Regions from separate parts of the Homo sapiens genome. Here regions 2, 3 and 4 are each linked to region 1. Evidence: promoter capture Hi-C in 16 types of primary human blood cells and fetal thymus (Javierre and others, 2016). All regions are on one chromosome and are shown on one strand. Each heading gives the region's core, a stretch centred on a gene start or on the middle of the fragment in contact. The rest is flanking DNA. Distances are from core to core; before and after follow the strand shown. Region 1 holds the start of ASAP3 (ArfGAP with SH3 domain, ankyrin repeat and PH domain 3). Region 2 holds the start of MDS2 (myelodysplastic syndrome 2 translocation associated). Region 3 has its middle 14 kb from the start of RPL11. Region 4 overlaps MDS2 (myelodysplastic syndrome 2 translocation associated).

The links. The method cuts DNA at HindIII sites, captures the fragments that hold promoters and counts their contacts. A CHiCAGO score of 5 or more calls a contact.
Region 2: a contact is called between a fragment that was not itself captured here and the fragment with the promoter of ASAP3 in region 1, in 1 of 17 cell types (neutrophils). The highest score is 7.0, in neutrophils.
Region 3: a contact is called between a fragment that was not itself captured here and the fragment with the promoter of ASAP3 in region 1, in 1 of 17 cell types (fetal thymus). The highest score is 6.0, in fetal thymus.
Region 4: a fragment that was not itself captured here is called in contact with the fragment with the promoter of ASAP3 in region 1 in 14 of 17 cell types (non-activated CD4 T cells, neutrophils, naive CD4 T cells and 11 more); the score reaches 15.2 in non-activated CD4 T cells.

The regions. Positions count from the first base shown.
Region 1 is chr1:23,482,102-23,488,568 of GRCh38, reverse strand. ASAP3 (ArfGAP with SH3 domain, ankyrin repeat and PH domain 3) reads left to right here and starts at 4,390. Exons shown (of 25, transcript NM_017707.4): 1 at 4,390-4,564. The coding sequence starts at 4,436. RefSeq lists an enhancer at 3,526-3,625 and silencers at 3,816-3,865, 3,876-3,985, 4,106-4,555. The HindIII fragment of the contact is 9,206 bases long and covers 1-6,467 here.
Region 2 is chr1:23,621,208-23,627,696 of GRCh38, reverse strand. It overlaps MDS2 (myelodysplastic syndrome 2 translocation associated), which reads right to left and starts at 363. Exons shown (of 6, transcript NR_167910.1): 1 at 160-363. RefSeq lists an enhancer at 1,790-1,909. The HindIII fragment of the contact is 8,968 bases long and covers 1-6,489 here.
Region 3 is chr1:23,702,355-23,708,867 of GRCh38, reverse strand. No RefSeq gene overlaps it. Among named protein-coding and RNA genes, the nearest start is that of RPL11, 14 kb to the right of the region's middle. The HindIII fragment of the contact is 6,366 bases long and covers 1-4,717 here.
Region 4 is chr1:23,637,453-23,643,614 of GRCh38, reverse strand. MDS2 (myelodysplastic syndrome 2 translocation associated) reads right to left here. Exons shown (of 6, transcript NR_167910.1): 5 at 3,820-3,935; 6 at 3,047-3,287. Among named protein-coding and RNA genes, the nearest start is that of MDS2, 13 kb to the right of the region's middle. The HindIII fragment of the contact is 5,004 bases long and covers 1-4,391 here.

The sequences.
Region 1 (6,467 bases), core at 3,141-5,640:
ATAAATAAATAAATAGGTGGGCCAGAGCCCCAGACCAGAAAACTGATTATTACAGTCCACAGTGGTAATTGCTGTGGTGGGAGATACTGGATCCCGTAGGAGTCCAGAGTAAGTACATCAAGGAAGGGTTCTTGGAGGAATTGACATCTAAGTTGGCCTGCTGAAAGGACGTGGGAGAGCATTACAGACGGAGGGGAGAACAGTGAAGGGGCTCAATCACAGTGGGGACAGAGAGGCAAGAGATCAGCCTGTGAATGGCAGGAGCAGCAAGACCATGCAGGGCTAGACATCCATGAAAACAAGTTTGGCTTTTATTCAGAGAGCAATGCGGGGGGCACTGAAGAGTTCTAAGTAGAGGAGCAACAGAACAGATATGCAAGATTAGGGGCAGGGAGACCAGCGAGGAAGTGAGAGGTGGCAGTGGTCTGGACTGGGGTTGGCCTGCAGATGGAGAAGGTGGTCTCACTGGTGAGACTAGTGACAAGACTTGTTTGAGGGGAGGTTGGTAGAAGAAGGGAGGAGAGGATGACTCCGAGGGGGTGCATGGTAATGCCTTCCATCAAGACAGGGACAGAAAACAATCTGGTGCAAGGAGTGGGCGTACGAGATGGTGAGTTCAGTTTTGGACCTGTAGAGTTTAAGGTGTCTGTCTGTGAGCCAGTGAAATGAAACTGTCTCATAGGTGGCTGGATACATAGATCTTGAACTAGAGAAGAGTCCAGGCTGGAAATACAGCCTTGGAAGATGTGATTGGCTCAGTAATGGCTCCCAAAGATATCCAGGTCCTAATCCATGGAACCTGTAAATGGCACTTATATAGCAAAAGAGATTTTGCAGGTGTGATTAAATTAAGGATTTTGAGATGGGGAGATTATCCTGGATTATCTGGATAGGCCCTAAATGTAATCACAAATGTCCTTATAAGAGGGAGGCTGAGCACTTTGAGAGGTCCAGGTGGGTGGACCACTTGAGGTCAGGAGTTGGAGACCAGTCTGGCCAACATGATGAAACCCTGTCTGTACTAAAAATACAAAAAATAAAAATATAAGTAAATAAAAAATAAAAATAAAAAATTAGCTGGGTGTGGTGGCATGGGCCTGTAATTCTAGCTACTCAGGAGGCTGAGGCACAAAAATCCCTTGAACCTGTGAAGCAGAGGTTGCAGTGAGCTGAGATCACACCACTGCACTCCAGCCTGGGCGACAGAGAGGCATCACGTCTCAAAAAAAAAAAAAAAAAAAAGAGAGAGGTTGAACTAGCTGGGCGTGGTGTCATGCACCTGCAGTCCCAGCTACTTGGGAGGCTGAGGTGGGAGGATCGCAAAAGCCCAGGAGGTTGAGACTTCAGGGAGCTGTGATCACTCCACTGCTTGGAGTGACAGAATGAGACCCTGCCTCAAAAAAAAAAAAAAAAAAAAAAAAAAAGAGGGGGCCGGGCGCCGTGGCTCATGCCTGTAATCCCAGAACTTTCGGAGGCCGACGCGGGTGGATCTCCTAAGGTCAGGAGTTCGAGGACCAACATTGAGAAACCCCATCTCTACTAAACATACAAAATTAGCCGGGCATAGTGGCGCATGCCTGTAATCCCAGCTACTCTGGAGGCTGAGGCAGGAGAATCGCTGGAACCCGGGAGGCGGAGGTTGTGGTGAGCTGAGATCGCACCATTGCACTTCAGCCTGGGCAACAAGAGTGAAACTCCGTCTCAAAAAAAACAAAAAAAAAACAAAAAGAAGAGGGGTGGGGAGGCTGGGAGAAATTTGATCACAGGGAAGAAGGCAAGTAAGATGCTTGAAGATGCTGCTGCCCTTGAAGGTGGAAGGTGCCATAAGCCAAAGAATGCAAAAACTACAGCTCTCGAAGCTGCAAAAGCAAGAAAACAGATGCTCCCTTATAGCATCCAGAGGAAGTACAGCCCCACTGATACCTTGATTTTAGCCCAGTGAAAGTTATTGCAGACTTGTGACCTCCAGACATGTAAAAGAATAAATGTGGCCAGGCGCAGTGGCTCATGCCTGTAATCCCAGCACTCTGGGAGGCCGAGGTGGGCGGATCACCTGAGGTCAGAAGTTCAAGACCAGCCTGGCCAACACGGCGAAACCCCGTCTCTACTAAAAAATACAAAAATTAGCTGGGTGTGGTGGCACGTGCCTGTAATCCCAGCTACTCGGGAGGCTGAGGGAAGTTATTGGTGATTTGTTATAGTAGCAACAGGAAACTAGTACAGAAGACATCAACATTACCGTTGGGATTGGATGAAGAAATCCAGGAAGGCTGATAGAGTGAGACATGCAGAGGATTTAGCAGAGAGCTCCCAACAACTCCAGCATTTAAGATCCCTGCGGAGGAAGTGCATCTCAGAAAGGGCTCTTGGAACAGCCAGAGGGAGAGGGCCACCAAAGAAAATAGTTCTCCTAGGATTCAGGGGCAAGGGTGTTTCAAGGAGAAGGGAGTGGTTAACATTGTCAGATGCTCCTAAAAGTCAAGCAAGAAAAGTGCCTAAGCTCAGGAGTTTGAGGCTGCCTTGAGCTATGATCATTGCACTGCACTTCAGCCTGGGCGACAGAGTGAGACCTTGTCTCTAAAAATAAATAACAAGAAAAGTGCCTATTTGGTTTCAACAGGAGAAGTTGACCTTGAAAGAACTCTTGGAATAGTTGTCGTCTCTATCAGATGGTACACATTTTTTTCAACTTTTAATTCTTTTTTCTTTCTTTTCTTTTTCTTTTTCTTTTTTTTTTTTTTTGAGACAGGGTCTCACTTTGTCACCCAGGCTGGAGTGCAATGGCAGGATCTCAGCTCACTGCAAACTTGACCTCCCAGGTTTAAGCCATTTTCCTGCCTCAGCCCACCAAGTAGCTGGGACTACAGGCAAGAGCCACCACGCCGGGCTAATTTTTGTATATTTTGTAGAGACAAGGTTTCGCCATGTTGCTCAGGTTGGCCTTGAACTCCTGAACAATCCGCTCACCTCGGCTTCCCAAAGTGCTAAGATTACAGGCATGAGCCATCGCTCCCGTCAACTTTTAATTCTATTACACAGTAGTATATGGTCATTGTATAAAAGTTAGGATATACAGATTCACCAAAAGAAAAGAAAGTTACTCATAATGTCTTCAGCTAGTGCATATCTGTCTTCAGCTAGTGCATAAAATGTTGCTGGTGCAACATTTTAGTGCATATCTTTCCGGATTTTTTCTTTTCTTTTCTTTTCTGTGCGAGAAAAGAAAAGATTCTCTCAATCGCCGCCCTGTGGGGTAAAATACCATGAGGCCATTTTAAGAGGGGGAAATGCAGGCTTAGAGAAGCAAGCAATTTATCCAAAGTAACCAAGATTGGAATCTAGGTTCCTCTGACTCCAAAACCAATGTTCCTTGCTGCGGTGCTTTCCTAGCTTTTTACTTGGAGAACTTTTCCCCAGAGGACCTCAGGCTTCAGAACTAAACCTAAGTGGATTTCTATCCTGAACCCCATCCCTCATCCGCCCCAAAGGATGGTGAGCCAGATTAAGGGGTGAAAGGCAGGAGCAGGAAGAGTAAAGGCGTGGGTGCGATCTATGGTCGGGTAAGAGGGAACTAGTACACGCACGTGTTCGGTTCTTCGCAACATCACAATCAAGCGGGCATCAGGCTTCCCATTGTACAGATAAGGAAACTGAGGTTCCAGAAGAGAAGTAATTTTCCCCAAGTCACACAGCTAGCCAGGGGCCCCGATCCACACATCCCCGGGGCGGCGGGGGTTATCAGGAGGGAGTCTCCGGATGCCTGCAAAGCTGAGGCTGAGAGCTGGGCGTACGCAGCAAAGGAGGGGTGGGGCGATTCGGGGCGGAGCGAGGCAAGGAGATTGGGCGGGACTGGGGAGAGAGGAGGGAAGGGTGGCGGGGGGGTGGTAGGGCAGAAGGGGCGAGGTCATGGGGAACTCGGAACGAATCAGCAGAGGAGGGAGGAAGAGGGAGGGGGCTCTAAGACTCGACGCGGAGATGGAACAGCCTGGGCCGTGCAAGGGAGGAGGATTTGGAAGACCCAGAGCGGGATGAAACGGGACAGAGCCCTGAAGGGGCAGGGATGGGGGAAGGCGGAGGAGTTTCTACTGAGGCCAGGGGTGGGGCATCGCGCCAGGGGGCGGGGTCTGAGGCGGTGAGGGGCTGGGGGCGTGGCCTAGGGGGCCGGCGAGGGGCCGGGGAAGCGGCCTGACGCGGTGCGGGGCCGGGACCGGGGCCGGAGCCTGGACCTTGGCGGTGGAGGAAGGCGAGGAGCCGGGGGCGGGGCCGTCCCAGCTGAGGAGCGGAGAGCGGCTGGAGGGTCGGGGGCGGGGCGTGCGGAGGGGCGGGGCGTGTGGAGGCCGGGACGGCGCCCCCGGCCGGCGGTGAGGCCGGCTCAGCGCGGAGCAGCTCAGTGCCCCCCGCGCCCCGCTCCGGCAGCTCCACGCTCGCGCCCGCCATGCCGGAGCAGTTCAGCGTCGCCGAGTTCCTGGCCGTCACCGCGGAGGACCTCAGCTCCCCGGCTGGGGCCGCCGCCTTCGCCGCCAAGATGCCCCGGTACCGAGGGGCGGCGCTGGCGCGGGAGGAGGTGAGGGGGCCGAGGCGGGAGGGGTCGGGGGTCGGCGCCGGGCCTGGCCTTGACCTCCACAGGCGTGTCGCACCCGAGCTGCGATGGCCCTTCACCGCGCCCCGAAACCTGCCCCCTCCCTAGGTCTGGGAGGACCGAGCGCATCTCCAACAGCTGCGTCCTCACCGTCGAGGCGGGGGAAGGCCCGAGGGACCGTTTTGGGGGGCCTCGAGGTCTCTTCGATGACAAACTCCACAGGTCGGGGGACGTACCCCAAGTGCCCCGCGTGACCGCCTCATCACATATGTGTTTGCCTAGCGCCTTCCAGCCTCAGTTTGCGTTTTCATCTTCGGAGCCCCACAAGTGTGCCCCCCGAGTCACTCCCCTTCTGAGAGGCAGGCTTCCCGCCTCAGTCCTGAACTTTCTTCCCCCCGGCTGCAGAGAGGCCCCCTCCCGCTTGCGGCTGGTTCGGAGATTTGGCCCGCGTTTGTGGAATGAATGCGGATGGGAAGGCGCCAGGAGCCGGGGTTCACCTTGGCCGGGCTGTTGGCAAGTTTATCGTCTCCTCTCCCCTCCCCTCTCCTCTTTGTCTTTCCCAGCAAAGCGTCCCAGGCCTTTTCTTTCGGTCTTGCAGGCTGCCCCACCCCATTCCCATGCTCTTCGGAGTTCCTTCCATTCCTCTTCTCTGAACCTGCTGCAGCTTTCCGCAGCTCCTCTGCAAAGAATATTCTAGGACAGACACCCCGTGGCCTTGGTCCAACGGAGAATAATGTGTTTTTGCAGCTCCCCATCCAAAGGATGCCCTCAATTTGGGTGGCATTTTGGACCTCAGCAACGGCTCTAGCCTTCCACCCTTCACCTTAAGTGTACTAGGCACCCACTGCGTGGCAGATACAAAGCTCAGTAGTTCATAACACCCTGCGCCAGTGTCAGGAAATCTGTCCTCTTCTCTCTTGTCAGGGTGACCCTCCATCTCGGAGTCTGTTTGTATCACTTTGTAAGGGTGATAGAGGATTGTGGAAGGAGCATCGACTTTGGGGAAGGCAGACCTTTTTTCTTTCCTTTTTTTTTTTTGAGACGGAGTCTCGCTGTGTCGCCCAGGCTGGAGTGCAGTGACGCGATCTTGGCTCAATGCAAACTCCGCCTCCCAGGTTCACACCATTCTCCTGCCTCAGCCTCCCGAGTAGCTGGGACTACAGGCTCCCGCCACTACGCCTGGCTAATTTTTTTTTTGTATTTTTAGTAGAGACGGGGTTTCACCGTGTTAGCCAGGATGGTCTCGATCTCCTGACCTCATGATCCGCCCGTCTCGGCCTCCCAAAGTGCTGGGATTACAGGCGTGAGCCACCGCGCCGGCCAAGGCAGACCTTTTTTCAAACGCTGGCTCTGCAGTTTGCCATTTGGGTGAACGTGGGCATGTGACCTGTCCTGTCATCTGTGGAATGGGGGTAATAATGTGTACCTCACATGAGACAATGCATATAAAGCATGCATCTTTTTTTTGGAGACAGAGTCTTGCTCTGTCTCCCAGGCTGGAGTACAGTGGTGCGATCTCAGCTGACTGCAATCTCTGCCTCCCGGGTTCAAGCAATTCTCATTCCTCAGCCTCCCAAGCAGCTGGAATTACAGGCATGCTCCACCACACCCGGCTAATATTTGTATTTTTAGTAGAGACAGGGTTTCACCATGTTGGTCAGGCTGTTCTTGAACTCCTGAGCTCAGGCAGTCTATCCGCCTTGGCCTCTCAAAGTACTAGGATTATAGGTGTGAGCCGCTGCACTGGCCCATGCCTCTTGATAAATGGAATGATTATCGTCAGATTAATCGGCAGATCTCTTTAGACAGTGATTGGGTCTCTTTTGTCTTCATTTGTCTCACAGAGCCTCACCTTGTCTCATTTGTCTCACGGAGCCTAGCCTACTAC
Region 2 (6,489 bases), core at 3,006-5,505, 140 kb before region 1:
ATGACGGTGTGGGTGTGGGGGTGTGTGTGCATGGGCTTGTGCATGTGTGTGTGTGTGTGTACAATTGGAAGAACTGCAGCCGATTGTGTGGTGATGTGAATGAGCCAGCAGAAGAGGGGGACCCCTGGAGCTGTGGGAGAGACGCAAGGAATTGCTCACTGTTGTCCTGGAGGAGGTGAGAGAGGATGAAGGGCAGTGTCCCAGTGGAGGGCGTAGAATTCAAGTTCCACAAGGCGTCCAGGTAACAGGCACGGATACAGGCGGGAGTGAAGGGAGAGGTGGAGTCTGAGGAAGTTTCCTTCTGATTGCTTCTGTTTCCCAGTGAAACAGAAAGCAAGGTCTCCAGCAGCTGACAGCTAGTACAGCAGGTTCTTTTTTTCTCAGGTGTTATAGATAGCTGCGCCTTCCGCTCACCACAGGTGAAATGGTTGGCTTGTATCTGGGGCCACACCACATAAAAACCATTTGAACAGCAGGATCACACTCAGCATGATGAGAGCCCACATGAGGCTGGAAGTGCAGGAACTTGGACCGGCGGGGGGAACCTGGCAGGTCACATTCCCTCTCAAGGGGTGAGTGCTCACCAAGTGGAATTGGAGTGTGACTCTGTAGCAGTGATTCATGCACAACGTGCTCTCTCTCTCTCTCCCCTCCCTTTACACGCGTGTTTAAATGTGTGTAAATTAGGCTGGGTGCAGTGGCTCACGCCCGTAATCCCAGCACTTTGGGAGGCCAAGGTGGGCAGATCACTTGAGGCCGGGAGTTCGAGACCAGCCTGGGCAACCTGGTGAAACACCGTCTCTGTGAAAAATACAAAAATTAGCCGGGCGTGGTGGTGCACATCTATAACCGCAGCTACTTGGGAGGCTGAGGCATGAGAATCACTTGAGCCCAGGAGGTGGAGGTTGCAGTGAGCCGAGATCACGCCATTGCACCCCAGCCTGGGTGACAGAGCAAGACCCTGTCTCAAAGAGAAAAAAAAAATGTGTGTAAGTTAAATGCACCATGATGAAGACTCCACTATAAATGGTGCCGCTGGAACCTCGGGCCTCCTGACTCCACATCAGTTTTGTCTCTACTATAATACTCCATCTCTCATCACACATCACTAGGGAGCACCAAAATTGCAGGGAAGAGGGTAACCCAGGCTGAAAGGAGGAAGAGAGCACTTAAACTAGAAAATTCTAGAACATCAGACCTCGATGGACCTTCACAGATCATTTGGTCCAACACCCTTATTTGACAGACATGGAAAATGTCATTCACTGACTCCCCCAATATCACACAACAGAATCCTCATCATCCCCATCATCATCCCCATCATCATCATCCCCATCATCATCATCACCATCACCATCATCCCCATCATCATCATCCCCATCACCATCATCCCCATCACCATCATCCCCACCATCATCATCCCCATCATCACCATCATCCCCATCATCATCATCCCCATCACCATCATCCCCATCACCATCATCCCCACCATCATCATCCCCATCATCATCATCACCATCATCATCATCCCCATCATCATCACCATCACCACCATCATCATCATCCCCAACATCACCATCATCATCATCCCCATCATCATCACCATCACCATCACCATCATCATCATCCCCATCACCATCATCACCATCACCATCAACATCACCATCATCACCATCACCATCATCCCCATCATCACCATCATCATCACCATCACCATCATCCCTATCATTATCATCCTCCTCCTGATCACCATAATTGTCATCTGCATGGAAGCTAGCCTATATTGATTACTCCCTGCTGCCAAGCTGTGTCCCATTTCATCATCAAAGCCTCTTGAGGTGGCCACTCTCATTATTTTCATTTTACAGGTGGTGAAACATCACAGAGCAGGTAAGGTATAAACTGGGAGACCCTCCTCCCACCCACTCTGTGAAAACCTTTACTAGAGATCTCGCATTGGGCCACTAACCCTAAGATAGGAGGCAGAAGGGGGCTCCCCTTGAAACTCGAAAGAAGTAAATTTAAGACCAGTAAAGGGAAGTTTTGCTTCACACAGAGGGGGTACTGGCTAAAAATACTAGTGGCTTCAAGAAGTATTTAGATCAGTTCATAGATAGTTGATCACAAGGCAGTCAGAGTGATCTTTTAAAGACATAAATTAGGCTGAGCATGGTGGCTCACGCCTGTAATTCCAACACTTTGGGAGGCCAAGGCAGGCGGATCACTTGAGGTCAGGAGTTTGAGACCAGCCCAGCCAACATGGCAAAACCCTGCCTCTACTAAAAAAAAAAAAAAAATTTCCTTGTTGTGGTGGTGGGCACCTGTAATCCCAGCTACTCTGGAGGCTGAGGCATGAGAATCACTTGAACCTGGGAGACAGAGGTTGCAGTAAGCCGAGATCACACCACTGCACTCCAGCCTGGGTGACAGAGCAAGACTCTTGTTTCAATAAAATAAAATAAAGACATATATCAGATCACAACACTCTGCTGTCCAAAACCACCCACTGCACTTGGAATAAAATCCAGCCCCTGGCCAGGCGCGGTGGCTCATGCCTGTAATCCCAGCACTTTGGGAGGCCGAGGTGGGCGGATCACGAGGTCAGGAGATTGAGACCATCCTGGTTAACACGGTGAAACTCCATCTCTACTAAAAATACAAAAAAAAAAAAAAATTAGCCAGGCATGGTGGCAGGCGCCTGTAGTCCCAGCTACTCGGGAGGCTGAGGCAGGAGAATGGTGTGTACCTGGGAGGCGGAGCTTGCATTGAGTAGAGATGGCACCATTGCATTTCAGCCTGGGCGACAGAGCTAGACTCCGTCTCAAAAAAAAAAAAAATTCCAGCCCCTTTGCCCTGGTGCTTCCCCACCTTCTTCCTGCTGTCATCTCCGTGTTCACTTGGCTACAGCCACAGCCAAAGCCATGGCCACACTGCTCTCCTTGCAGTTCTTGAAATGTCAAGCTCTTCCTGCCTCAGGGCCTTTGCACCTGCCCTTTTCTCTTCTGGGCCACCTTCTTCTGCTCTTTGCCTGGGTGGCTCTTTCTCCTCCTCCATGCCTTGGCCTAAATGTCAACTCCTACAGGGGGCTTTCCCTGCATGACCCCTCAGCTGAGTCAGTGCCTGGTCTCTGTCTCGTCACCCTCTGTCTCGTCACCTTGTGGTTTTCTTCCTTGCCTTTGTCACAACCACGTTATTTTATTTATTTACTTGTTTTGTGTTTGTCTCTTTCTGTTGGACAGTGAGCTGCATGATGTCAGTGTCATTGTCTGTCTTTTCATTCCTGTGTCCCCAGAATGGTGTGCTGCAGGCCCAGTGCCTGGCATGTACTATTTATTTATTCAGCACTGACTGCACCACCCCACCTCCAAAGCCCTTTATATGAATTAACTCGTTCATCAGTCCTCACATATCAACCCTGTAAGAGAGGACTTTATTATCATCCTTACTTTATAGAAAGGAAACTAAGGCACAGATAGGTTAGAAATTTACCCGAGGTCACAGCTAGTGAGAGGCAGAGATGAAAATCTAGTCAGGGGGGTCCTGAATCTATGCTCTTAACCACAACCATCTACTCCCTCTCCAGTGTTTACTGAGAAAGTCATCAGTAGACATTTGAGAAATGAATAAATGAGCCAGGTGCAGTGGCTCACACCTGTAATCCCAGCACTTTGGGAGGCTGAGGCAGGCAAAGCCCTTGAGGTCAGGAGTTCAAAACCAGCCTGGCTAACATGGTGAAACCCTGACTCTACTAAAAAATATACAAAAATTATCTGGGTGTGGTGGCATGTGCCTGTAGTCTCCGCTACTCGGGAGGCTGAGGCAGGAGAATCATTTGAACCTGGGAGGGAGAGGTTGCAGTGAGCCAAGATTACACTACTGTACTCCAGCCTGGGTGACAGAGTGAGACTCCATCTCAAAAAAAAAAGAGGGAAAGAAAGAAAGAAATGAATGAATGAGAAACAAAGGGGTGGATACTAAGGGCCCTGGAATCAGACATATGTAGGTTTGAGGCTGGCTCTGTCCTCCATGAACTTGGGTCCCAGATTCTAATTCTACTAAAAAATAAAAACAAAAAAAAAACTTCTCCAAGAATGCCTCCAACCAATAAGCAAAGGCTAAACAACCTAATAGAAAAGTGGGCAAAAGGACCGGACAGCCAATTTACAGAAAAAGAAACCAGAATGCAAAATAAACATATGAAAAGATGTTTCGGCCGGGCACGGTGGCTCACACCTGTGATCCCAGCATGAAGCAGGCAGATCACCTGAGGTCAGGAGTTCAAGACCAGCCTGGCCAATATGGTGAAACCTCATCACTACTAAAAATCCAAAAAAAGGCCGGGTGCAGTGGCTCACGCCTGTAATCCCAGCACTTTGGGAAGGCTGAGGCAGGCAGATCACGAGGTCAGGAGATCGAGACCATTCTGGCTAACACGGTGAAACCCCGTCTCTACTAAAAATACAAAAAATTAGCCGGGCATGGTGGCGGGCGCCTGTAGTCCCAGCTACTCGGGAGGCTGAGGCAGGAGAATGGCGTGAACCCGGGAGGTGGAGCTTGCAGTGAGTCGAGATCACGCCACTGCACTCCAGCCTGGGAGGCAGTGAGACTCTGTCTCAAAATAAAAATAAAAATACAAAAAAAATGAGCCAGGCATGGTGACAGGCACCTGTAATCCCAGCTACTCGGGAGGCTGAGGCAGGAGAATTGCTTGAACCCGGGAGGCAGAGGTTGCAGTCAGCTGAGATCGCACCACTGCACTCCAGCCTGAGCAACAAGAGTGAAACTCCGCCTCAAAAAAAAAAAAAAAAAAAAAAGATGTTTCATCTTATTAGAGAGGTGCAAATGGAGACCGTGTGAGGAACAGTGAAGGAATCTGATCATACTCTGTTGGGGATGATGTGGAGGTACTGGAATTCTCATCCACTGTGGCAGAGGAAAGGAAGAATGTTAGTCAATACAAGCACTTCAGAAAATCACTTGGCAGCATCTTGTAAAGCTAATTATGTGCATACCCAATGACCCACAATTACAGTCTGAGGTAGGTAGCTTAGAGGAACTCCTACATGTGTGCACCAAGACATAGGTGTAAGAATGATCATGGCAGCCTTATTGGTGATAGCGAAAAACTGGAAACAATCCATGTGCTCATCAACTGGAGAATGGATAAAGTCACTGAATTCTATTTGACAACGGAGTACTAGACAGCAGGAAAAAGGAATGAAGGCCAGCCAAAAGTGCAAAATCATGTACGTATTTTAGAAACATAGTGATGCATGAAAAAATCAAGCCAAAGAAGAATGCACATGCATTGTGCTGTTTATATAAAGATCAAAAAACAAACGTAATAATGTGTTGCACAGGATCCTCCCCATTTGGTAAAATTATTTTTTTTTTCAAAGCAAGGGCATGGAATGATAACCACAAAATTCAGGATAGTGTTTACTTCTGGAGGAAGGCAGGGAATAGGACTGGGGAGGCACACACAGGTGGCCTCAGTGGTGCTGGTGAAGGCCTAGTTCCTAAGCTGGGGCCATGGGTTCACAGGTGTTTGTCTTCATATGCCAGATATTCAACACACATTTTTTGTAATCATCAAATATTACATAGTAAGTTTTGTTTTTTTTAAAAAAATGTAGTTCCTAGGGTTGTTGTAAAAATTAAATGGGGCCGGGTACGGAGGCTCATGCCTGTTATCCCAGCACTTTGGGAGGCCAAGGTGGGTGGATCACCTGAGGTCAGGAGTTCGAGACCAGCCTGGCCAACATGGTGAAACCTAGGCCCTACTAAAAATACAAAAATTAGCTGGGTGTAGTGGCTCATGCCTATAATCCTAGCTACTTCAGAGGCTGAGGCAGGAGAATTGCTTGAACCCAGGAAGCAGAGGTTGCAGTGAGCTGAGATCATGCCACTGCACTCCAACCTGGGCGACAAGAGCGAAACTCTGTCAAAAAAAAGAAGAATTAAATGGGAGTGCAGACAGATTTGTTTATTCATTCAACAAACATCTGCCATATGCCAGGCATCCTCTGAGATGCCAGGGAAGATACAAAAAAGGAGAAGACTATGCAACTGGGACAAGGTGGCTCAAGATTAGAACAGCTAACAGTACCAGCTTTGGATCCAGAGAGACCTGGGTACAAATCCCAACTCTGCTACTTACTAGCTTTGTGACCTTGGGCAAGCTACCTAACCTCCCTCTTCCTCAGTTTTTTCATCTGTAAGTCAGGAATAATAATCATGTAAATGGTATGAGGCTGAGCTAAAGCTACAAAGATTGACTGGCTTGACATGGTACTGAGCATTGGGTAAGAGCTCAGTAAATGTCACTGAGGCAGGAGAATGGCGTGAACCCAGGAGGCGGAGCTTGCAGTGAGCCAAGATCGCGCCACTGCACTCCAGCCTGGGCGACAGAGTGAGACTCGGTCTCAAAAAAAAAAAAAAAAAAGGCTGTTAGAATCATCCAGGTGAGAGATTATGGAGTCCTGAACT
Region 3 (6,513 bases), core at 285-2,784, 220 kb before region 1:
TGATTTCAGCTCAGTGCAGTGTTGTACTGCTGGACTCAAGCAATCCTCCTGTCTTGGCCTCCCAAGTGGCTAGGACTACAGGTATGCACCACCATGCCTGGCTAGTTTTTTTAAAACAATTTTAATAGAGACTCACTATGAGGCTTTGCTATGTTGCCCAGGCTGGTCTCGAATGCCTGGCCTCAAGCAATCCTCGCACTTTGGCCTCCCAAAGTGCTGGGATTACAGGTGTGAGACACTGTGCCCGGCCGCCTCTCAGGCCTCTTAATGCTTAAGTACCCTAAGGTTCAGTCCTGGGTCCTTTTCCCTTTCTGTCATACTCACTCCCCTATGACTTCATCCAGTCTCAAGACTGTAAATACGGACCTCCCTATGCTGAAGACCTCCAAACAGATATCTGCAGACCAGCCTCCAGAATGCCTACTCAACATCTTCCTTTAGATGATAGATTTTAAGTTACGCATGTTCAAAATGGAATTCCTAACTGTCAAATCTGTTCCATGCTACCTTCTCCATCGAAATTAACAGCAACTCCATACTTCTTTTGCTAGGGGCCAGAAACTTGAGTCATTCTCAACTTCACTTTCTCTCTTATCTTTCATCCAGTTGTCCATGGAAATCTTGCTGGTTTACCTTCAAGATGTATCTATCATCTGCCCATGTCTCACCACCTCCAATGCTGCCACGACGTCTGGACCAGCATGAATGCCTGGCCTCAACCTCCCGGGCTCAAGCCATCTTCCTGCCTCAGCCTCCCAAGCAGATAGGACTACAGTTGCACAAGAGCACTGAGCTGACAATACTTTCTGATAAGTCTTCCTGCTTCCACCCTTACCCCCCATATTCTGTTTTTAATATGCAGTTACAGTTTTAAAATGGAAGTCAGATCATGTGATGCCTCTGCCAACCTAGCAAGGAGTGATTCATTTCGCTCCCAGTAAAGGCCATAGTCTTTCTAACACCCTACACAGCCTGCACAGCGGCTGCCCATCATCTCTGACCCCCTCCTCCTCTTGCCCTCTCACACTGCCTGGCTGTAGTGGGCTCAGTGCTATAACGCACCTCTGCCTGAAGGCCTTTGCTCTAGTCTTCCATCTCTCCAAAAGCTCCTCCTCACAGATCCAAGTGCCCAACCCTTACCCACTTCAAATCTCATCTTCTCAGTGAGGCCTCCTCTGACCAGCCTTTCCTCACCCCCTCACCCCACTCTACTTTTTCTTTTCCCAACACACATACCATCCTATAACATTCTCTGTAATTTACTCGTGGATTGCTTATTGTCTGTCTCCCTCCATTAGAATGTAAGCTCCAAGGCAGGGATCTTTGTCTTTGTTCACTGATGTATCCTATGCCCCTTAAACAGTGCCCAGCACATGGTAGACGCTCAAAAAAAAGTTACTGGATAAGTGACTTTAGTGGACACACTTTTGTTTTGTTTTTGAGATGGAGTCTCGCGCTGTCACCCAGGCTGGAGTGCAGTGGTGCGATCTCGGCTCACTGCAAGCTCCGCCTCCCAGGTTCACACCATTCTCCTGCCTCAGCCTCCCGAGTAGCTGGGACTACAGGCGCCCGCCGCCACGCCCGGCTAATTTTTTTTTGTATTTTTAGTACAGACGGGGTTTCACCGTGTTAGCCAGGGTGGTCTCGATCTCCTGATCTGGTGATCTGCCCGCCTCGGCCTCCCAAAGTGCTGGGATTACAGGCATGAGCCAGCGCGCCCGGCCGTGGACACACTTTTAAAAAATTTTTCTTTTTGTTTTTTCTCTTTTTTTTTTGAGACAAAGGCTTGCTTGCTCTGTCTCCCAGGCTGGAGTGCAGTGGTGTGATCTTGGCTCACTGCAACCTCTGCCTCCCAGGTTCAAGCAATTCTCCTGCAGTAGTTGGGACTATAGGTACCCGCCACCATGCCTGGCTAATTTTTTTTTTTTTTGAGATGGAGTTTTCGCTCTTGTTGCCCAGGCTGGAGTGCAATGGCGCAATCTCAGCTCACCGCAACCTCCGCCTCCCGGGTTCAAGCGATTCTCCTGCCTCAGCCTCCCTAGTAGCTGGGATTACAGGCATGTGCCACCACGCTCGGCTAATTTTGTATTTTTTTTTAGTAGAGATGGAGTTTCTCCATGTTGGTCAGGCTGGTCTCGAACTCCCGACCTCAGATGATCCTCCCGTCTCGGCCTCCCAAAGTGCTGAGATTACAGGCATGAGCCACCATGCCCGGCCTCTGCCTGGCTAATTTTTGTGGTAGAAACAGGGTTTCACTGATGTTGCCCAAGCTGGTCTCCTGAGCTCAAGCAGTCCACCTGCCTCAGCCTCCCAAAGTGCTGGGATTACAGGCGTGAGCCACCGTGCCTGGCCTTTTTATTTTATTTTTTTTAAGACACAGGTGTCCCACTCTTACCCAGGATGAAGTGCAGTGGTGTGATCACAGCTCACTGCAGCCTTCAACTCCTGAGATCAAGCAATCCTCCTGCCTCAGCCTCCCAAGTAGCTGGGACCAAAGACATGCACCACTACACCTGGCTAATTTTTATTTTTATTTTTAATTTTTTGAGACAGAGTCTCACTCTGTCACCCAGGCTGGAGTGCAGTGGCGCAATCTTGGCTCACTGCAACCTCTGCCTCCCGGGTTCAAGTTATTCTCCTGCCCCAGCCTCCTGAGTAGCTGGGACTACAGGCGCCCACCACGCCTAGCTAATTTTTTTGTATTTTTAGTAGAGATGGGGTTTCACCATGTTCGCCAGGTTGGTCTTGATCTCTTGACCTTGTGATCTGCCTGCCTCGGCCTCCCAAAGTGCTGGGATTACAGGCGTGAGCCACCACGCCCGGCCTATTTTTAATTTTTGTTTGTTTGAAATGGAATCTCACTCTGTTACCCAGGCTGGAGTGCAATGGCACAATCTCGGCTCACTGCAACCTCTGCCTCCCGGGTTCAAGCGATTCTCCTGTCTCAGCCTCCCAAGCAGCTGGGATTACGGGCACCTGCCAACACCCCGCTAATTTTTGTATTTTCATTAGAGGCGGGGTTTCACCATATTTGTCAGGCTGGTCTCAAACTCCTGACCTCAGGTGACCCACCTGCCTCAGCCTTCCAAAGTGCTGGGATTACAGGCGTGAGCCACCTCACCCAGCCGGCTAATTTAGATAAAAAAATATGTAGCAATGGGGGGTCTTGCTATGTTGCCCAGGCTGGTCTCAAACTTCTGGCTTCATGCAATCCTTCCAAATGAGCCACAACACCCAGCCAGTCACATTTTTTAAACAGTTACATCTTTATTTTAGTATACTAGAAAGTAATACAATAAACATGTCAAACCTGCAAATTCAGTAGTAACAGAGTTCTTTTATAACTTTTAAACAAAGTATCAGGTAAATAATTGTATTTCCTAAGTAACCTGAAGGTGTTACTTCAAACTGAGAAAGCCTGCCCTCCACACAGCAGAGGCAAATTCAAACCCTCCACCATTCTGGAGGGCCTTTACTGGTAAGGGTTGCATTGGAGAACTCCCAAATCTGGCTGTGCATACAACTCACCTAGGAAGCTCGTTAAACTTTAAACAGAGTCCTTTGTTCCATTTTAAGTTCTCGGGAGTTGGGGCCTGGAATGCACATTTTAAACAAATATCTCAGGTGATTCTCCTATACCCAGCCCAGTACTGTGCAAGGCTTAAGGACTGGTGGATTAAATGACCTCTGAGGGCTCTTCTAGCTCAGAACTTCTGCCTCTGTGGTTGAAACTTGATCAACACATCACACACTGCAGCGTTTTTCAAATTGCGGATTAAAATCTACTTACTGGGCTGGGCGTAGTGGCTCATGCCTATAATTCCAGCACCTTGGGAAGCCAAGGCAGGCTCACTTGAGCCCAGTTAGAGGTTACAGTGAGCTGTGAACACACCACTGCACTCCAGCCTGGGTGACAGAACAAGTCCCTGTCACAAAAAACAAGCTCCTTAATAGGTGATATGATTTGGCCCTGTGCCCCACCCAAATCTCATCTCAAATTGTAATCCCCACGTGTGGAGGGAGGGACCTGGTGAGAGGTGACTGGATCATGGGGGTGGTTTCCTCCATGCTGTTCTCGTGATAGAGTTCTCAGAGATCTGATGGTTTAAAACTTCACCCTTTGTGCTCTCTCTCGCCTGCCACCCTGTAAGACATGCCTTGCTTCCCCTTCCACCATAATTTTAAGTTTCCTGATGCCTCCCCAGCCATGCGGAACTATGAGTCAATTAAAATCTCTTTTTCTTAATTACCCAGTCTCAGGTAGTTCTTTATAGCAGTGTGAAAACAGACTAATACAATGGGTTAGAATCAGCATTAGGGGCCGGGCACTGTGGCTCACACCTGTAATCCCAGCACTTTGGGAGGCCAAGGCGGGCAGATCACTTGAGATCAGGAGTTCAAGACCAGACTGGCCAACATGCTGAAAACCCGACTAAAATTACAAAAATTAGCCGGGCGTGGTGATGCACACCTGTAGTCCCAACTAAGGAAACTGAGGCAGGAAAATCGCTTGAACCTGGGAGGCAGAGGTTGCAGTGAGCTGAGATCACACCACTGCATTCCTGCCTGGACAACAAAGCAAGACCTTGTCTAAAAACAAACAAACAAAAAAATAAATAAATAAATAAGAGAGAGAGAGAGATCAGCATTAGGAAAAAAAAGTAAACAACTATACAATAGGACTGCATTACCTGTAGTAAGGTTGTTTCATGAAGCTTTTTCCAGAGGTGAGTATATATGTATGTAGTGATATACAAAATACATTTTTTGCCCTTCCGCTACTCTGAAGGGATTTTTTTTTTTTTACTGTGAACTGTAGTCAAAAACCTTTGAAAGCCACTGCTGTTGAGAAAACAATGATTCTCAACCTTCAGTGTTGTAAGAATGTGAATTCTTGAGCCCTACAAAAACCAAGTTTCTGAGAAGAGTTCAGGAATCTGTGTATATATTATATATGTATTTATATATATTTTTATATATGTATTTATATAATATATATTTATATATTATATATGTATTTATATAATATATATTTATATATTATATATGTATTTATATAATATATATTTATATATTATATATGTATTTATGTAATATATATTTATATATTATATATGTATTTATGTAATATATATTTATATATTACATATGTATTTATGTAATATATATTTATATATTATATATGTATTTATATATTTATATATTATATATTAATATGTATATTATATATTATACTATATATATTTATATTGTATATATTATATATTATATTATTTATATTATATATATGGTTTTGAGATGGGAGTTTGGCTCTTGTTGCCCAGGCTGGAGTGCAACGGCACAACCTCAGTGCACTGCAACCTCCGCCTCCCGGGTTCAAGCGATTCTCCTGCCTCAGCCTTCCAAGTAGCTGGGATTACAGGCACCCACGACCAGGCCTGGCTAATTTTTTGTATTTAGTAGACGGGGTTTCACCATGTTGGTCAGGCTGGTCTTGAACTCCTGACCTCAGGTGATCTACCTGCCTCAGCCTCCCAAAGTGCTGGGATCACAGGAATGAGCCACTGCCCCTGGTCTTTTTTTTTTTTCCTTTAGAGAGGGTCTTACTCTGTCACCCGGTGTGGAGTGTAGTGATGTGATCACGACTCACTGCAGCCTCAAATTCCTGGGCTCAAGTGATCCTCACCCCTCAGCCTCTTGAGTAGCTGGGACTACAGGTACCAGGACCCAACTCATCCAGTGTTTTCCTATACTTGGGAAGGAGGGGGTTGGAATGCCCACAGGTGGTACAAAATTTTTTTTTTTTTTTTTTTGGTGGTGGTAAGAAATGATTTGAAAAAACATAGTTAATGTCACTATACTGTTATATTGAGGAGAAATCTTATTTAAATAATGTCAAAGAGGGGCACTGGGTTTTTTTCTACCTGAAAAACAGGCAGAAGAGGCACAAGTATTAATACTTATTTTTGCTCACCTAGCAGCAGGGACTATATATCCATCTGGTTCAATGCTATGCTTCAGGTAGGTAAGCACTCAAATATTAAATGAATTCCTTGTCTTCTTTTCTTCACCAGCAAAGAATGATGCTCAAATCACAGAATAAAGCCTCTTAAATTTAAGCTTACCACAGAATACCAAGAATATACTCAATTATTACATAATATTTACAATACTTTAAACAGCTCCTACTATATATGCTGAGTGATTTACATATACTATCTTTAATTTCTGAAAATAACCCTGTAAGGTAGGTGTTATACCTATTTTACACAAGATCTGAGGCCCAGAGAGGCTGGCTAACTTGCCCACCTTCTCACCCAGGTAGTCAGTGGCAGTGTTGCTGTCTGTGTCCAATCTGAGCAACAAGCTGGTCTCAAGGGCCAGACACTAGCAATATAGAGTAAGACATGGCCCTGTGACTGAGATTACAGAATATCCGCTACAAAGTACATACACCTTCCATTTTAAGAAATGTTTTTCCTTTAATTGTAATTCAGGAGCTACTTGGGTGTT
Region 4 (6,162 bases), core at 640-3,139, 160 kb before region 1:
GGAATAAAATACTCCCTATGCTGGGACAATAGGTGCCAACTGGATCTGTCCCATCCAAACTGGGACACATGATCCCCTACTTTTCTGTAAAATGGGATTAAATAGAACCATGCAGAGAATACAGGGGGGCCAAAGTAAGTGCTCAGTGAGCAGCACCTTCATTATTTCTTTTTATTTTTTTATTTTTATTTTTATTTTTTTGAGATGGAGTCTCACTCTGTTGCCCAGGCTAGAGTGCAGTGGCATGATCTCGGCTCACTGCAACCTCCGCCTCCCCGGTTCAAGTAATTCTCATGTCTCAGACTCCTGAGTAGCTGGGACTACAGGTACGTGCCACCACGCCCAGCTAATTTTTTGTGTTTTTTGTAGAGACGGGGTTCCACCATGTTGCCCAGGCTGATCTCGAACTCCTGACCTCAGGTGATCTGCCAGCCTTGGCCTCCCAAAGTGCTGGGATTACAGGCATAAGCCACCACGCCCGGCCTTTTTTTTTTTTTTTTGAGATAGTCTTGCTCTGTCACCCACACTGGAGTGCAGTGGCATGATCTCTGCTCACTGCAACCTCAGCTTCCCAGGTTCAAGACATTCTCTTGCCTCAGCCTCCTAAGTAGCTGGAAACAGGCACCTGCCATGACATCAGGCTAATTTCTGTGTTTTTAATAGAGATGAGGTTTCACCATGTTGGCCAGGCTGGTCTTGAACTCCTGACCTCAAGTGATCCACCTGCCTCGGCCTCTCAAAGTGCTGGGATTACAGGCATGAGCCACCGTGCCTGGCCATCTTATCATTATTTATTTATTTATTAGACAGAGTTTTGCTCATTGCACAGGCTGGAGTGCAATGGCATGATCTCGGCTCACTGCAACCTCTGCCTCGCAGGTTCAAGTGATTCTCCTGCATCAGCCTCCCAAGTAGCTGGGATTACAGGCATGTGCCACCATGCCTGGCTAATTTTTGTATTTTTAGTAGAGATAGGGCTTCACCATGTTGGCCAGGCTGGTCTTGAACTCCTGACCTCAAGTGATCCACCTGCCTTAGCCTCCCAAAGTCCTGGGATTACAGGCATGGCCATCACGCCCAGCCATCCTATCATTATTTCTATACTCTGCAGTCACTCTCAATTGATGTCTAAATGTCATTCACTTGTCAATCAATTACTCACTACCCACCATGTGTCAGGTACACAGCATTGGTTCTCCTGATGTGAAGATGTACTGATAATTCATCTATTCAGCCCACATTTTGTGAGCAGCTCCTATCTGCCAGGCTAGGTTCTGAGGCTAGGCTCGTTCTGGGGATCCAAAGATGAGTGACACCACTTGTCCTCCTGGGGCTTGCAATCTTGTAGGGTACGGTGGGTGAAAGCGTGTCTCCCAAAAATGCATGTCCACCTAGAACTTCAGAATATGACCTTACTTGAAAACAGGGTTGGCCGGACGTGGTGGCTCACGCCTGTAATCCCAGCACTTTGGGAGGCCGAGGTGGGTGGATCACGAGGTCAGGAGATCGAGACCATCCTGGCCAACACGGTGAAACCCCGTCTCTACTAAAAATACAAAAAAATTAGCCAGGCGTGGTGGCGGGCGCCTGTAGTCCCAGCTACTTGGGAGGCTGAGGCAGGAGAATGGCCTGAACCCGGGAGGCAGAGCTTGCAGTGAGCCGAGATAGTGCCACTGCACTCCAGCCTGGGCGACAGAGTGAGACTCCATCTCAAAAAAAAAAAAAAGAAAAGAAAAAAAAAGAAAAAGAAAACAGGGTCTTTGCAGGTGTAATTAAGATAAGTATCAAAATAAAATCATGCTGGATTAGGGTGGGCCTGAAATCCAATGAGAGTGTCTTGATAAGAGACAGAAGAGTGCACAGAGACACAGACGAAAAGGCCTTGTGAAGACAGAAGCAGAGACTGGAGGGCAGGGGCACTCCACAAAATGCCAAGGATTTTGCCAGCAGCCACCAAAAGTTAGGAGAAAGGCATGGAATGGATCTTCCCTTAGACCCTCCATCACCCAGGCTGGAGTACAGTGGCGTGATCTCAGCGCATTGCAACCTCCACCTCCCGGACTCAAGCAATCCTCCTGCCTCAGCCCCCCAAGTAGTTGGGACTACAGGCTGGCTATTTTTTGTATTTTTTCGTAGAGATGGTGTTTCACCATGTTGCCCAGGCTGGTCTCAAACTCCTGGGCTCAAGCAATCCTCCCACCTCAGCCTCCCAAAGTGCTGGGATTATAGGTATAAGCCACCGCGCCCAGCCCACCTTGATTTCAGACTTCTGGAAGAACCATGAGAATAAGTTTCTGTTGCTTTCAGCTACCAAGGCTGTAGTAATTTGTTACAGCAGCCCTAAGAAAATAATCCATAGAGGACACACATGACACCCACATTGATAACTAAATGAATAATTATATGATAGCTACCTCCAGGGAGAGGTAGCGATGAGGAGGCGTCACAAGGAGGCTTCTGGGGAGCTGGTTATGTTCACTTCTTGACCTAGAGGCAGGTTATGCAGATGGGTTCATTTTGTGAAGGTATATTGAGCTGTACACAGGATTTGTGTGTTTTTGTGTTTGTTATACTTCAGGAAAAACTTAAAAAGATAAATTGCACAGGCCAGGTGCGGTGGCTCATGCCTGTAATCCCAGGACTTTGGGAGGCCAAGGCAGCTGGATCACTTGAGGTTAGGAGTTTGAGAGCAACCTGGCCAACATGGTGAAACCCCGTCTCTAATAAAAATACAAAAATTAGCCAGGCGTGGTGGTACACACCTATAATCCCAGCTACTCAGAGGCTGAGACAGGAGAATTGCTTGAACTCAGGAGGCGAAAGTTGCAGTGAGCCGAGATCATGCCACTGCACTCCAGCCTGGGTGACTGAGTGAGACTCCATCCCCCAAAAATAATAAAACAAAATAAAATTTAAAAAGATAAATTGCATAGGTAGATGTATAACTATAGATTGTGTTAAGTGCTTTGAAACAAAACTCATGGGTTATAGGAGACAGTATTTTTTAGTCAGCTAGGACTGCTATAACAAAATACCACAAACTGGGTGGCTTAAACAACATACATTTATTCCTCACAGTTGTGGAGGCTGGGAAGTCCAAGATTAAGGTGCCAGCAGATTCCTGGTGAGGGCTCTCTCCCTGGGTTTGCAGACAGCCACCCTCTTGCTGGGTCCTCACATGGTGGAAAAAGAATGATCTCTTTTCTTCTTACAAAGCCACCTTTCTCTGTTTACAGTTTTGTAACATTGGTAATCTGTGATGGTAGCGTCTGTCATTTATTGAACACCTATGTTCCAGAAACTTTACTGTGAAATAGGTACTATTGTCCCTCATTCCAGACGAGGAGGCTGAGGCTCACTTGCCTGTTCCTGGTAGATGGAGAATCTGTCTCATACCCTTTGACCCCACTGTCACTGTCTCTGAGCCAGCCATGCCTCAGGATCAGGCCTGGGGTGCAGGTGGAGGGCGTTGGGGAGCTTTCTATTTCCCTTACTACTAGTCCCAGTGATGTGGAGGATGACAGCCTGGAGGGAGGTGTCTGGGACAGCATCTGGCCAGGTACCTGGTGGGATGGTTTGCCCAACTGCCTGGGATGAGCTGCTTAGCCTCCCCACTTTCCTGAAAACCCAGGGCAAGAGTGTGTCTGGGAGGGAGGAGGACAAAGAGACCCAGTCACCTGGGCCACCACCTGGAGTGGCAGTTGGGGAGGAAGTGGGAAACGCTGGCTGCTTCTCCAGCCCTGGCCTCTTTCCTTCCCATCCGCTGGGCCTGACTTCAGTGCCCACCTCTAGGAGGGAGACTCAGAGAACCAGACTCACCTGCCTCCGAGCAGCTGTGGAGGCGACAGCCAGGTCTTAATGGCCTCTCCAGGGTCAGCTGAGGCCTGCCACGGGCACCTCCCCTCATAGCTGGACTGCTATTCAGAACACTGCAGCTGCAAGAAATTAGAGAAGCGAGGAGGCTGAGCAAGGAGCTGGTGCCAGGGGAGATCAGGGAGGAAGGGAATCAGGGCACCTTCTGGTCCTCCCAGTTCCTGAAAACCTACTGTCAGGCTGTACTTCCCCAAACAGCGTTTAAGGGAAGCCAGCCCCCTACCACAGGCTGTGCACTGCTCTGAACAACTCCAGGAGGCATCATCACATAGGTGACCACACGTGGTCTTGTGGTTCTCCGCTGCCACCCATGCCAGCCCTGCTTGGGTCCTGTCACCTCATCCCCTCACTCACAAACCTGGTTTCCCCAGCCCGGCACCCAAACCCATGCTTCATCGATTCGTTCTTTCCTTTAATATGTGTTTGTCAAGTGCAAGAACCACCCACGGGGCTTTAAGTTCTAGGGACATAGTAGAGTCAAGGCAGTCACCTCAGCCTTTGCAGTCTGGTGGGAAGCTTGGAGAGATTAACATTAAGCAGACACCATGAAATCTGGCTTGATAAAACTCCAATTAACCCTCTTGAGAGTTCACCAGCAGTCTCCGTTCTCTCAATAAAATCCGCAGCCTGGAGCTCAGGAAACAATGAATGTTCAGAGCCAGGGTTTCCCTCTGCAACCTGCCCCCGCACATCTGGTTTTATCTAAATTCCTGGCACCTGCCCACTACCAGCTCCAACTGGGTCAGAACACAGGGCTTCTACCGAGTAAATACAAATATTTAACCACTTATACATATGATGACTACTTGGCAGGAGAAGCATTGCAAGTGTGTAACATGGGAATTCGACCCCATTTTAGCAATCCAGGAGGGCTTCCCAGGAGAGGTGACTTTTAAGATGTGCTCAGAAGGATGACTCAAAGTTGACCCAGACTTCTTGAGGGAGAGAAGAAGCCTTCCTGGCCCCTCAACAACCCAGATTGCTCAGCCACAGTCAGACAACCCATGCCACCAGGATGTCACCAAGATTTGACAACCGAGACTCTCAGACACTCTCTCTCCCTGGCACACATACACACTCGTACACACGATGACAGCCATGGGACGGCCAGGCAGCTGGACGTCTTTGTCCCCCACTCCCAGCCTGATGGCCACCCCATCAGTCCTTTGCTCCTTCACTCTGCTTCCCATCAGTCCCCTCCTTCTGGGAGTCACAACTCCCTGGGTTGTGATTCTGGCTTCATATTCACTGGCCATGTGACCCTGGGCACATTACTCAAGCTCCTGGATACTGCTCCTCCACTGTCAGTGAGGGTCATGATCCTCCCTGCCTCTCAGGGCCACAGAGAAGGTTAAGGCTCATAATTCCCGTAAAGCACCTTTGCAGCGCCTGTCCCTCCACAGTGGCAGCTCTTCTTAGCACGGTTGCTGTCACTATCATTCGCTGTGGCCTTGCTCTGGCCCCACCCCCATGCCCCTCCTTCTCCCAGCCTACTGTCTCCCCACTTCTGCCTGGGCCTCCTCTCTCTCTCCTCTCCCTCCTTCCAGAGCCTGAGACCCAGAATTCCTGAAGGGCTGGGGACAGGGAAGGGGCAGCCAGCTCCCCAAACAGAAATGTCACCTGCTTGGAGTCCCCAGTGGAGGGGTGGGGTGGAAGCTTTCTGCTCAGCCTTGAGAACCCTGCCCTAACCCCCCACAGAGCCTGATACAGGCTCAAACCTGCATCAGGTCAAACCACCCCCACAGAGACAGAGCTGGGTGGGTTAGGCCGCTACCTGAACCTGGGTCGCTGTCTGCAAGCCAGCCAGGGAGGGGACTGGCCTCACCCCCTCAGAGGGGTGAAGATGCTCTGGGATCTAAGTCCACACTGAGGACAGCGGGAGGTGGAGAGCACCTCACGGAGGGGGGTTTGAATCCCGGGGCCTCCTTTACTCCTCTGGATCATCTTTGAGAAGTCGCCTCTTCTCTCCAAGCCTTGGTCTCCTCATTGGTAAGATGAGGCTGGACAATTCCTGCCTACCACCCACTCAGGGCTGTTGGGAGAAACAGTTGAGAAGAGGGCAGAAGGGAATCCTGTCAAGCCTGGGAACCAACGCCTTTCCGTCGCCAGTTGAGCTCTACGTTTTGGCCAGCAGATGGCGCGATAGAAGCGCCAGTGTCTCCGTTCCAGGCCCCGGACATTTGTTAAACGTGGCGAAACTGTTACTCAAGATCCCAAACTCTAGAGCTGATGGATCTCAGATTCTACCCCCTTAAGCTGCGCGCGGTGGCTCATGCCTGTAATCCCAGC